Linked DNA regions of Homo sapiens: region 2 is linked to region 1. Evidence: promoter capture Hi-C in human tissues and cell types (Jung and others, 2019). All regions are on one chromosome and are shown on one strand. The core of a region is centred on a gene start or on the middle of the fragment in contact, and the rest is flanking DNA. Distances in the headings are between cores, read along the strand shown.

Region 1 (6,875 bases), core at 1,870-4,369:
GTGGTACAATCATGGCTCACTGCAGCCTTGAACTTCTGGGCTCAAGCGATCCTCCTGCCTCAGTTTCCTGAGTAGCTGGGACTACAGGTGTGCACCATCACGCCCAGCTAACTATTTTTTAATTTTTGTAGAGACAGAGTCTCACTATATTGCCCAGGCTGGTCTTGAACTCCTGGGCTCAAACAATCCTCCAGCCTCAGCCTCCCAAAGTGCTAGGATTACAGGTGTGAGCCACAGTGCCCAGCCTGGAATCTGCATTTTAACCAGTGTCTCAGCTGGCCATTGTGTTGGGGTCTCCCTATTTGCCTCCACTTCCTGTCTTCCTTCCCCTAGACTGCGGACACCTTAGGACACGGCTGGGCTGAGGATGACCCTTTGTGTCCCTGGAGCCTGGTGTGTACCTGGCACATGGTTTGTACTCAACACCCAGAACTTTCCAAATGTCAGCCACAGGATCCTTTTCTCATCCCAAACTCAGGTGACCTAGAAAAATACAGGAGTTTGGGGGAGGTCTGCTCAAAGGTGGGATGGAGAAGAGGTGGCTGGGCCAGTAAGTGGAGCCAGAGACAAGGAAAGGGGTTAGGGGTTGTCCACACCTGGTGCAGGGCGTCTGCCTTGTCTGTGTGCTTCTGCCGGCTTCGCTGGGCGGCTGCCCGGTTCTTCTGCTTCTTCAGCTGCCTTTGTTGCTCCTTGGGGTCCTGTGGGGCATGAGGCAGAGGACTCAGGGGGCCCAGCCAGGCCTTGTGCCCTCCGTCCTGGCCCGCCATTTGTAAAGCCAAGTCTTTCCCCTTGAGTCAAGTTCCCAAGGGTCTTTTATCTCCCAGAAGCTCCCTTGGCACCCACACCCCCTATAGCAGGCACTGCACACCTTGTTGGAACGCCAGCCTCACCCCTGTGTCCTGCTCACCGCTCATGTGGAGGGTGGGAGGGCAAGCAGGGAAGATGGGAAGCCTGAGATTCAAACTCAGACAGAGCCAACTTCAAACCCCACATTCTTTTTTCCTTTTTTTTTGAGACAGAGTCTCACTCTGTTGCCCAGGCTGGAGTAGTGCAGCGGCTCTATCTTGGCTCACTGCAAACTCTGACTCCCGGGTTCAAGCAATTCTCCTGCCTCGGCCTCCCAAGTAGCTGGGACTACAGGCACCTGCCACCATTCCTGGCCAATTTTTGTATTTTTAGTAGAGATGGGGTTTCCTCATGTTGGCCAGGCTCATCTCAAACTGGTCTTGAACTCCTGACCTCAGGTGATTCACCAGCCTCGGCCTCCCAAAGTGCTGGGATTACAGGTGTGAGCCACCGTGCCCAGCCGAGCCCCATATTCTTGAACCCAATCGCCCCATCCCTGCAATGGAAGCACCACAGCAGAGGGTTAAAGCCCATGCGGCAGGCAGCCCAGAGCCGGCGTGCCATAAAGCTCAGCTTCCATTCTTCTCATTGCCATGATTTCCACACCAAGGTGTGAACTTTCCTAACTGTGAGCTCCATGAGGGCAGATGTGGTTCTCTGTGCTCATGCCCAGCTCAAGCCCAAAGCAGATATTCACTTACTCAACAAACATGTATAAGCACCTACTATGTTCCAGGCAGTAAGCTAGAGGGACATGATAGCAAACAAAATACACACAAATCCCTGCCCTGAAATTGCTCACATTGTAGTGGGGTGGTAGCGAAGGATGAATGAATGAAGGGTTTATTCCGGTGGAAGAGTGGACTCAAAGGTTGTGACCACCTTGTACCCTGGGATCAATGAAACTTAGATAAAATATTTTACCCAAATGTCCAGAGCTCTGCAAAGTCAGAGCAAGAGGGACTGTTGGAGAGCTCACAGCCCAGCCCCCGCCCCCAAGTCTCTCTGGGGTATGTGTTTTGAGGGTAAGGACCTCAGGCAAGGCCCTGGCCGCCCTGGCTGCAGATTCTGAATGCTCCTAGGCTCCTGCTCCATATGCTCCCTTGGGCCATGTCCACAGCGGGCTCACTGTAGACACTGGGGCACCAAGAAACTAAAGGCTGAGACAGGACCCACGGTGAGTGAAGGGGGCTCCTGTGAGATAAGCAGAGCCTCCAAGGGAAACCATGGCCCAGGGAATTTATTTATTATTTTACTTTATTTTATTTTATTTTATTTTATTGAGACAGAGTCTCTGTCGCCCAGGCTGGAGTGCAGTGGCGTGATCTTGGCTCACTGCGACCTCCGCCTCCCAGGTTCAAGTGATTCTCCTGCCTCAGCCTCCTGAGAAGCTGGGATTACAGGCATGTGCCTCCACCACGCCCAGCTAATTTTTCTATTTTTAATAGAGACGGGGTTTCACCATGTTGGCCAGGATGGTCTCGATCTCCTGACCTCAGGTGATCTGCCCGCCTCAGCCTCCCAAAGTGCTGGGATTACAGGTGTGAGCCACTGAGCCCGGCCTATTTTATTTTATTGAGACAGAGTCTCTCTCTGTCACCCAGGCTGGAGTGCAGTGACATGAGCTCAGCTTACTGCAACCTCCATCTCCCGGGTTCAAGCAACTTTCCTGCCTCAGCCTCTCGAGTAGCTGAGACTACAGACGTGCCCTGCCACACCTGGCTAATTTTTGTATTTCTAGTAGAGACGGGGTTTCGCCATGTTGGCCAGGCTGATCTTGAACTCCTAACCTCATGTTATCTGCCGGCCTCAGACTCCCAAGGGGCTGGGATTACAGGCATGAGCCGGCCTGGGTTATTTGGAGAAGGAAGGAAAGGCTGCTGTGAGTGTAGTGAGGGGGGACCAGGTACGTTAGGAGAGAGCAAGTACACAGAGGCCAAGTTCTAAACCGAAGGCTGGATCTGCAATGTGAGAGCTGGAAACAACTCATTCCAATCCAATCCCGACTTCGGGGGAGGAAAGTGAGACCCAGAGAGGGGCATGCAGAGCCCTCTGTCACACTGCTCAGAGTATAGAGCTGGGACTAGGAGCTCCCGACTGCAGCCCTCACTGCCTGGGCACTGAGGACGGGATCCCAGCTCCCCTTCTCATCCCCGATCCCCAATCCCCTGTACTCACTGTCTGGGTCAGCAGCCCATTGCCCCCACAGAGGTGCATGGCTTAGGCGGGGGAGCAGAGTGGTCCCTCAGCAGCTGTGACTTCCCAGTGCCCTCTGGAGGCCTAAGGAAGTGGCAGCTCTTTAAATCCCCAGTGGCCACTCCGCCCCCAGAGGGCCAAGTTTCAGTTTCTCCTAAAGCCACCAGCTGCTCAGAATCCCTGGCTCAGGCTTGCTCACGTGGCTAGAATTTCCTAACATGAACTGGCCTTCCGGTTGGGCCCCTTCTCTGGAAAGAGGATGGTGGAGGGTGGAGAGGAGGGAAGACCAAAGGCCAGGTATGAGGAGGGTGTTCTAGGGGAGGGAGGACAGGCGGCCAGGGACTGAGATGAGAGAAGAAGCCAGTGGGGACCGATGCTCATGTGGGGTAGAGAGAGCCCTTGAGCTCTGGAATTGGGGGAACTCTGGATCACAGCACACATTGGAGCTGTCCAACTTTCAGAAAGTGACTCTCCTTCTCTGAGCCCTAGTTTTCTCATCTGGAGGATGGTACAACTACCCACTCCCAGGCTCATTGCAGGAACTAAGCCAGATAATACAACCACCCCCAAACCTTCTGAGACCACTATGGAAGCATGTCTGCAAAATTAAGCAATGGCTGTTGGATAGAACAGATGGATACATTACTGTTTTCATACAACAGACCATGAAGCAGTGGAAAGATTGATGTCCAGTGGTTAGGAGCCCAGCTTCCAAGCTATGTGACTTGGGTTCGTAATTTCATCTGTGTTTCTGTTTCCAAATCTGTAAAGTGGGGATAAAAACAATTTTGTTAGGCCAGATGCAGTGGTTCATGCCTGTAATCCAAGTACTCTGGGAGGCCAAGGCAGGAGGATTACTTGAGCTCAGGAGTTTGAGACCAGCCTGGGCAACATAGCAAGACCTTATCTATATTAAAAATAAAAAAAATAACTGGGCATGGTGGCACACACCTGTATTCCCAGTTACTCAGGAGGCTGAGATGAGAGGATCACTTGAGCCCAGGAGTTCAAGGCTGCAGTGAGCTATAATCTTGCCACTGCACTCCAGCCTGGGCAATAGAGCAAGACCTTGTTTCAAAAAAATTAATTAATTAAAAATTAAAAAATAAAGACCTAGCAAACCCTGAAGCCCCGGGCATACCTGCATGCTTGTTGTATCTCTAAGAGGGACACTTGGATGGGGCATCTGTTTGGGGGCCAGAGGGGCCAGTAATTCCTGTCCAAGAACAGCATGCATGCAGTATGTAGAGTCCTATGGTCTGGTGACTAGAGCATCTTGGAGTTGTACCTGAGACCTGAGGGCTCATGGCTGATGATGTGGTATCACAAGAATGGCAAATACAGATATGATCTTCTGATAGGTGATGGTGGCTGGAATGTTGTTTTAAAGAGTTCATGGACACCTCTGAGCTTAGTAAAAAAGAGTACTGCAGTTGATTAGCAATGTCTGCCACACCATGATCGATTAGTGATGCCTGTTATGGGCAGAGGTGTGGAGAGTGCAGTCCCCTGCTATCCCTAGAACCAGGCATAAAACAAGTCTGGGTTTCAGAGACAAAAGACTTGACTCTCCATCCTGGCACTCCACTCACCCAGTTTATCACCTGGAGCCTCAGTGTCTTCAAAGATATGCTGGTGATCACAAAGAAATGATACCTATTTGACAGTTGTTTTGAAGATGGGAAAGAATGAGATGAGAAGAAAGCTCTTGGGATATTGTAAAGTACTATGTGGCAAGGATTCCCCCTCCTGAAATTTGTGGTGTCATATTCTGGATTCTAAGATTATTAATGCAGGCTCCTAATTTAAAATGCCTGGGTGGGTGAGATTGGGCATAAGAGCTGGGCCTTGCCCTCCTAGCTTCTGAGGGGCCTGGGAGCAGAGGCGGAAGTGGGATGCCCCACGCAGTGAGGCCATCCCTGTTTCTCTGAATTATTGTTTCCTGGAAACCAGGAAGGCTGGGGCGTCTTGCCTGAGGCAGGCACCTGAAGGGCTCATTAAGCCAGCCCATGAGCTCCCCTGGGAGGATCTGCAGGCACCTTGTGCATGATGTGACTACGAAGAAACACCCGTGTGTGCTTGTGTGTGTGTGTGTGTGTGTGGAGGGGCTAGGCCTGAGTGTCCCACTCCAGATCCCAGCCCCTGCCCCAGACCCCCAGTCTTTCTTCTCCAGACCCTGGCTTCTGGCAGAGGTGAGACAGCAGGTGTAGCTCTTCCCAGAACACCACAGCCCTGGGAGAAGACCAAAGAAGGCAGCGTTTATGGCTCCCTGAGGAGGCAGCTGGGAGAGGGAGTGGCAGGGAGGGAGGGAGGTAGGGTGGGTAATGTTTAACTAGGAATGGCTGTGGGAGACTTCTCCCAGGCTGGTGGGACCATCCAATCTGACCTCGCCTTAGACGGTGTCTCAGTCAGCTCAGGCTGCTATAATGCAATACCAGAAACTGAGTGGCTTAATGACAGCCTTTTATTTCTCGCAGTTCTGAGGGCTGAGAAATCCAAGAGCAAGGTGCTGGTAGGTTTGGCTCCTGGCAAGGCCTCTTCCTGGCTGGAAGATGGTGGCACTCTTGCCGTATTCTCACACGGTCTCTCTGCCTTCTTATAAAGACACTCATCCCATTGTAGGGTCCCACCCTCACAACCTTATCTAAGCCTAATTACCTCCTGAAGGCCCCACCTCCAAATACCATCTTACCAAGGGTTGGCACTTCAGTGTGTGAGTTTGGGGGGGGAACACAAACTTTCAGTTCATAAAAGAGGGTGAGGAAACTAATGCCCAGAGGGGCAAGGTCACTCCACGGGAGGGGCAGAGCTGCAGGGAGAACACAACCTCTCTCTTCTAGGCCTCAGTCCTGCTCCACACTCTGCTTGGAAAGGCCTGGTCCATTAGTCCAGAGCCAGCAGCCCCAGTGGGTGGAGGGTTGGAGGCCTCCCAAATACCACAGCTACCAATGAGCTCCTACATGGCAGGACTGGTTCTTTGAAGGATCCCCAGTGCTTCAAACACTGCCTTCACGTAATAGATGCTCAATTAATGAATTAATTAATTAAAGTCCAGCAGGCAGCTTGCCACCCAGGAACCCCAAAACTTTCCTGAGGAAAGAAACTTTTCACTCATTCCCATAGGACCTGCCCTGGGTTCCTGGTGGGCTCCCCCCAACCAACTTCATCATTTCACCAATGAATAAACTGAATTATAGGGAAGAGAAAGTCACACCACTGTTTTGGGAGAAGCCAGAATGCCCTGAAGCCCTGTCCCTTTTTTTTTTTTTTTTTGAGACGGAGTCCCACTCTGTCACCCAGGCTAGAGTACAGTGGCACAATCTTGGCTCACTGCAACCTCTGTCTCCAGGGTTCCAGTGATTCACCTGCCTCAGCCTCCCAAGTAGCTGGAATTACAGGTGTACGCCACCACACCCACCTAATTTTTTGTATTTTTAGTAGAGATGGGGTTTCACCATGTTGGCCAGGCTGATCTCGAACTCCTGACCTCAAGTGATCTGCCAGCCTCAGCCTCCCAAAGTGCTGGGATTACAGGCGTGAGCCATTGCACGCGGCCTGTTTTTTGTTTTTTGTTTTGAGACAGAGTCTTGCTCTGTCTCCCAGGCTGGAGTGCGGTGGTGCGATCTCGGCTCACTGCAACCTCCGCCTCCCAGGTTCAAGTGATTCTCCTGCCTCAGCCTCCCAAGTAGCTGGGATTACAGGTGTGTGCCACCATGCCCAGCTAATTTTTGCATTTTTAGTAGAGACGGGGTTTCACCATGTTGGCCTGGCTGGTCTCAACCTTAGGTGATCCGCCAGCCTTGGCCTCCCAAAGTGCTGGGATTATAGGCGTG
Region 2 (6,785 bases), core at 4,276-6,775, 220 kb before region 1:
AATGACTAAGTTTATACCTGACAAATTCACACTCAAGAGGGAAGAGAGGCTGGACCAATTTGGCATTGGTGGGAAACCACAAGCGCAGAGAATTGGATTTTCCCACCAAGAGCTCCATGAACTCTATATTATGGTCAGCCACAGTAAACCTGAGGATTTGACTTCTCCGCACTAGTGGGGAAGTTAAGACACCTTCTCACAGAAAGGCATTAATTCAGCCAAAATGAAATGTCCTACCAAAAAGGGGAAAAGTAAGCCAACAGTCCCCAATTAGGCACAAAACGGACACATCTCACAGGCTCTAAAGGAATTCTATATCCTATAGACCAGCAGTTACTCACCTGGGCCCGATGAGCAGCCCCACAAAGTTGATTTCTGGGTACTCATCTTGTGGAATCATGACTTTATCACTCACACGTGTTGCTGGAGGTCTAAGAAAGAAAAGCCTGTGTCACCGCACATTTCTGGAGAATGACACAGCCAGCGGCTTTTCTAAAACCAAATATTGGTACCAAGTGCTAATTATGGGTGACTTGAGGCAAGAGGTGAGTAGTACCAATACTGTCCCATCCCAGCAGGTCACCCATGATCTGCATGTGTCTTCATCCCAGATGACCGAGCCCCTCCGCTTACTTGTAATCTGCAGGTGGCTTGAAATCCGGATTGAGTGCAACCATCTCTGTGATGAGGTTGTGCCGCTCCTCTTCCAGCTTTTTGCGGGTGCGGAACTCTCGGGTGTTAAGCCGCTTCCCCTCGCTATTGTAGATGGGCTCAGGGGAAGGGGACCTGTGGGAAACAGACTCCCGTTTACTATTCTGCACCGACTTCTCTCATTCCCACACGGACTATAACAAGTCTTTCCCAGCCCCTCTGCCTCTCAGACCCTAATACAACACTCTTCGGAGGAACCGACCATAACGTGTGCTACTCAAGATCGTGTGGAATGGGGAGATGGAAGCTGGCTTAACGTTAGGGGTCTGGGGTGTGTGTGAGAAAGGAAAAAAATAAAAGATTTTGCATCTAGAAGTGATGAGAGGAAAAAATGTCTATTCTTTGGGGAAAATCTTTGGACTGTAAGTGGCAAGGACAGTATCATCCCCTGGAGTCTTCTTGCCAAATACGGATTTTCTTCCATTTGAAAAAAAATACATATCCCAACTTTATGAACCACAGAAACCCCAAGTTTAGGCAAAAGGTTAACTCTTGGAGAGCTCATGCCCTATGAGGAAAAGCTTCTGTACCCCTAACACATAGTATGTATGAGCTCTTTAACCCAATGCAACTGGGACTGAAGGCTACTGCAGCTACTTGGCCCCCACAATGGAGAGAGATGGTTCGCTTCGTCTTTGCTTTTCCTTCAATGGCCTGGCTGGCTGTGTCCAAGGCCCAGGAGACAACCTGTTTTCTGGCTGTTCGAGGTTGGGGAGTCTGGGTAGAGAAAAACGTTAAAGTGCTAAAGCAGCTTCTGCGAGAGGCTGCAAATGCAGATTTGGTCATACTTGTCTAGGGTCTGAACCTGCAAACAGCAAGGGGAAAACCTATGATTCTCCACCAGAGTTTACAAGTCCAGAAAGCAGATTTTCTCTCTCTCATTTTTTTAAGGAGTAAAATGCTGTTGCTACAAGTAAAAAAATGTAATGATAAAATGGTCAGTTTACCACAGCTGGATTTTGCGGTAATAAAAAAGAGAGGTTACACTCCTAGAATTTTGAGTTAAGATTACAAAAAGGACCATAGCTTGATATTCTGAATGAAAATTTAGTAGCAGCTGCAAGAAGGGAAGAGACCATGTGGATCAGGTTATTAAAAAAACATACTGAAAGTAATCAAGACTCCTATACCCTTGGTTTAGTTGAGAGAACCTTGCCTAGTTGGAGAGCAAGGACTGAACTCGGCTGCTCCCACTGTCTTCAGCCTAAAGGGAACCATGTCACACCACGTTACACACACGATGGAATAAAAGGTCAGGTTTGTTCATGGCTAATGACGGCTAAATGACACCTCCGTTTCTAGCATTTGTATAAACTGTTAGCACAATCCATTAAGAGTGAACAAAAGCAAACATACCCCAGCTCATTAGACTACCATCTTATACATTTAAGTCTACAAGAAAAGTTTTAAACATGTTTTTACTGTGCAAGTTAAGCAGCATCAAAATAACAATAAAGTGGCTTAAGTGATATAACACCTTTTTAAGAAATTATCTTAATTAAGAAAACCCATGCATTTCCCTCCAACCTGGGCTCAAAAGCAAAACCAATCAGGCATTAGGGCCTCTTTCAAAACTGAATAGAAGGGAGGAAAAACCCTGCTCTGGTTTTATTTCTAACATGCTTGACATTTCTAATTCCCACCCCACAGCTGTCTAGAATTAAGCATTCTTAGCTAGTTACAAAAACAAGTCTTACCAGCACCCAATTGGCCATGTGAAGGCCTCACAACAGTTTAACCTCCTCCCAAATTGCAGAAGTGAAAGGCAAAAGCTAGTATTCTAGAGGTTAGACTGGCCCGACTTCTTCACCTCCAACAGGCATCGGCTAGATCAACTAAATTCTAATCCCAGTTATCCAGGAAGCAAAGAAGGTTTGTTAAAAATTCAACCTTTGGAGGAATTGACTGGTGACCTGTAGACATATTATTAAAGGGAAAAAGGCCAAAAAGGCACTAAACAGTTGTGGTCTATGACCTACAATGTAAATTTAAAAAAAAAAAAAATCTTCAAAAAGAAACGAAACACAACACAACCCTACAACCAAAATCTATCTATAGGTAAAATATAGCAAATGTAGTAAGTCAAATTAAAGAGTCAATATGGAGAAACAAGGAAGTTAATGTTTCCTGGCAAAGGGCGGAAGAAAGATGCATGAGTGAGTGACTTCTAAAGCCATTACATCATCTTCCTGATTTAATAAGCTATTAACTGGGTAACAAAAACCAAAAACACTACTTTTTAAAGCAAAGTCTTTTCAACTATTCTGTATGTACTAAGAGAAAATTCAGTGAGAGGGAGAGACTTACTGCCCTTCTAATTAAATGACCAATTTTAGCTGTTCAATCAGCTAATAAAATTCCAGTTTAAAAAAGTTCATCTCCCCCACACAATTTATTTTTCTGAGGTGAGAGAAACTGCAAACTGAAATGACATGACCACAGCTGTTTGAGGCCCACGCTCCCTTTAAGGAAAAAAAAAAAGTAATTTAGGGTTGGTTGCATGCCTTCCCAAAATAGGTGAGAATATTCTGGCCCCTCCCAACACCCCCAAGGCAATGGCCAAGGCTGAAAGTTAACTGGCAGTGAAAGAAGTTGGTTAGAAATCTCATCTGATTTTGAAACCATCTCAAAACCATGAGCAGGAAGACTGCAGCAATGAGCTGACCAGAGCTCCTGGCTTGCTCAAGTTCAGTGATGCTCAAAAATATTTTTAGTCCCTGCACTGTGTACCTGTGAGAAAAACTCTATGCCCTGGGCTTTTGGCCAAAGCAGGTACTGAAAAGGCAGGTTAACGGGCCACCTCACTGTCCCCTAAGGGTGGGTAAATCAGGTTAAGATCTACATGCTTACCAATTGGAAACCAGTTGTCCATTTTCCTGTAACTTTTTATTCTCCCAACATTTTTAAGTTTTATTCCAATTTTCTAACTGTTGACTGACCATACATATTTCTAATTAAACCTTAATCCCCAAAGTGGTCAGGGTACAGTCGTCATACTATGATTTTATTGAACTGACACAATATGTTGCCACCAGTAAAACGTATTGAGAAAAAGGTAAAAGCGTTACTGTCAGCTGGTTAAAACTGTTTCCCAACCTGTCCTCAGGGTTAGGGGGGATGCCCAGGTCTCCTGTGCGCAGTTTACGAGTCAGGTCTTCTATCTGCAGTTGCACTGGAAGAAACCAGGTTAGGAAAGAAAAAAAAGGATGGAAAAAAGACAATGTTACCAATAAACATCTCAAATCTCAACAACAAGCATGAAGAACTCGGAGACTTTGAAAGGGACGACTGATCAGTGAACACATTGAAGCAAAAACCCCCAACCACCTATCGGCAGGAGTCCTTTTACATCTATAGGTTTTTTTCACTTCAAAATGGTTATCACTTAAGGAAGCAAACAGTTTGTTGGAAGAGGGGTTAGCAATAAAGACTGTTCACTAAGGCTAACATCCAAGCAATTATTAGGAGGTGTTTCACCTCTTCCTCCCCACCAAGGCTTGCTTACCATTGGTACCCAGAACCATAAACCATGTTACGTCACCAATACCCGACTCCCATCAAATTACTTGAGGGCAAGAATTGAGTTTTTTCTTCATTAAATGTTAAACATAGCCCAAAATGAGACCCAATTAACATGGGACAAGGAAAAATACCAATTGAGCAAAGATCATTTTCATTAATACATTTAAAATTCCTTAAATAAGACATTTAATAACAAAATTCAACACCTTATAGAAATTTGTACATACTCTTTCTGTACAACCAGACCTGTACTAGTAAGGGTCTCCCAATACCTGCAGCTCTTATTCAATTATATGAAATATTTATTCAAATATTAAATGACAAACCACATATCTTAATAAACCAGTAACCATAAAGTGCTAAGAATTTGTTTTCAGGCTCACTGTTCATATGGGGAGCAGGCGTGTAGAAGAATGGAATGTGTGTTCAAGGACAATGTACTTGGCCCTCGGGCCTTGACCAATGAGGCTGTGCATGAAAAAGAGAGATGAGGGTTTCACAAAAGTTGCCAGTGACGCCAGGGAAATGTTACACAGCTGATTTTCCAAGATAATGGGAACTGCAGAGCCAGAGCAGCTTTCTTCAACATGCGGAATAACCACCTGTTCCTTACCTTCGCAGCATCTGAGAATTTTCAGCAGGCATCTCCAATAAGGGCAAATGTTACTAGGTTGGGTTAAAACTGAGCTGGCTCCAAGATAGGATTAATGCGTGTCTAACCAAAGATTCCTTCTAACTTTAAATACATCCACAGGGCTATACCACACCCACACACTAAAACCCTGAAGAAATGAAAACCCATTATTATCGAAAGAAAATACTGGCCGGGCACAGTGGCTCACACCTGTAATCCCAGTACTTTGGGAGGCCAAGGCAGGCAGATCATGAGGACAAGAGATCGAGACCATCCTGGCCAACATGGTGAAACCCCGTCTCTACTAAAACTACAAAAAAAATTAGCTGGGCATGGTGGCGTGCGCCTGTAGTCCCAGCTACTTGGGAGGCTGAGGTGGGAGAATCACTTGAACCCGGGAGACGCAGGTTGCAGTGAGCCGAGATCGCACCACTACACTCCAGCCTGGCGACACAGCAAGACTCAGTCTCTCAAAAAAAAAAAAAAAAAGATATTGAGGGCATCCTGGACAAAGCAGTATGTACCGTGGGAGACAGAAAAGTAGTAAGACACATGGTTCCCCAAGCTCCTTTATGCCTAAAAAGTTCTGACTTTGCAGTTGAGTATTAAGCTCAACAACTCGAGGTGAAAGTCACCTTCACTGAGGGGAGAAGGTGAGTCTTCCTAGCTGACTATGGAGATGTGGGGCCTGATCTAAATAAAAAGGGTCATTCTCTTCTGTGGAGAACTACACCTCTCCTTTGATTCTATTTTGATTATAGCTATAAATAGTCCTTAGGGCCCAGTGAACTAACTAGCCCTCCACAAAAACAGAAATGGAGATATAAAGAATTTGTGCTCTTCCCATCTTCTAAGTATGCTTGTGTTCTTGGGATATCACTCCACTAGGGGCATTTCACAAGGATGTAAAGACCCAGACTAGTCTAATATGAGACACAATGGAATGGGTGGGAGTAGACAGGAACAGTAGGGGAAAGAACAAGTATTAGTAGTACTGTGAAAGGAGACAGACAATTCCAACGCCTCAAAATTCTCAGCAGTCTAAAAAACAGGAAATTAAGACCCTCAAAAGTAGTAACATGCTGGCCTTGAAGCTTTTTGGTTGTGAAGGCCACAGCCTCGTAGGTTTAGGAGGTCTTTGCCCGAATTTCCTCCAAAGGGGATGTTTATTTGGTTAGTAGGAAATGTTTATAAAGTGAACTTTTTTGAGACAGCTGCACAGGTATATAAAGATAAAACTTGCATTAAAAACTTTTTTTTCCAAAAAAGCAATTTTGAGGTTAATTTCAATTCCACTGTGGATAGTCATTAATTCTCAAAACCTCCCAGCAAATAAAACCTTTTTATCCTAGCACTTCATTCCATATCCATGCAATATCCCTTTCCCAGCAGAGTTCTTTAAAAGTAAATACAAGAGCCTTCATTTTAAGACAGCTCTCCATAGACCAAACCAGAAAAGATGTTGAAGGGAAGGTTAAACTCTTAAATTCAAGAAAATAAAAAGGGGTAAATTGTAAACACACTTTCAGAACCACTTTTTGTCATTTTTTTTTTTTCAGAAAGTACCTATAAAAAGTAAAAGACCACATTTTAGGGGGAGAAATATAAAATTATGGTGAAAGGCCACGCTGTGAAAAGTACTTGGTTTACAGTACCTGCGGTGTTCTCCACTGGGGCCTGTCCAGAGAGGCAGATGACACTCACCTCATCAACTGGCAATGAACAGCAGCTGAAAAGGGTGGCTGCTGGACTGGGGACTGTTCTTACTCCTAAGTGAAACCCTACCTTCCTGATACTCATGGAGAACACTGCAGTTACGAACAGACCAAAACAAGGAGCTGCAAATGCAGAACTCACTGGGCAAAAACTGACAGATGATACCAAAGTCGTGAAAGTATCTCATCTCAAAAAAGATAAC

Evidence for each region. Contacts are between HindIII fragments. The study calls those that stand out against the background at their distance.
Region 2: a contact is called between a fragment that was not itself captured here and the fragment with the promoter of BATF2 in region 1, in 1 of the 25 tissues and cell types used here (dorsolateral prefrontal cortex).

Annotation. Positions count from the first base shown.
Region 1 is chr11:64,993,852-65,000,726 of GRCh38, forward strand. BATF2 (basic leucine zipper ATF-like transcription factor 2) reads right to left here and starts at 3,120. Exons shown (of 3, transcript NM_138456.4): 1 at 3,025-3,120; 2 at 597-698. The coding sequence starts at 3,063. RefSeq lists an enhancer at 2,519-3,019 and a cis regulatory region at 4,264-5,402. The HindIII fragment of the contact is 29,477 bases long and covers 1-6,875 here.
Region 2 is chr11:64,769,623-64,776,407 of GRCh38, forward strand. It overlaps SF1 (splicing factor 1), which reads right to left. Exons shown (of 13, transcript NM_004630.4): 3 at 3,808-3,883; 4 at 634-786; 5 at 342-431. Among named protein-coding and RNA genes, the nearest start is that of SF1, 5.5 kb to the right of the region's middle. RefSeq lists an enhancer at 3,114-3,203. The HindIII fragment of the contact is 3,858 bases long and covers 3,597-6,785 here.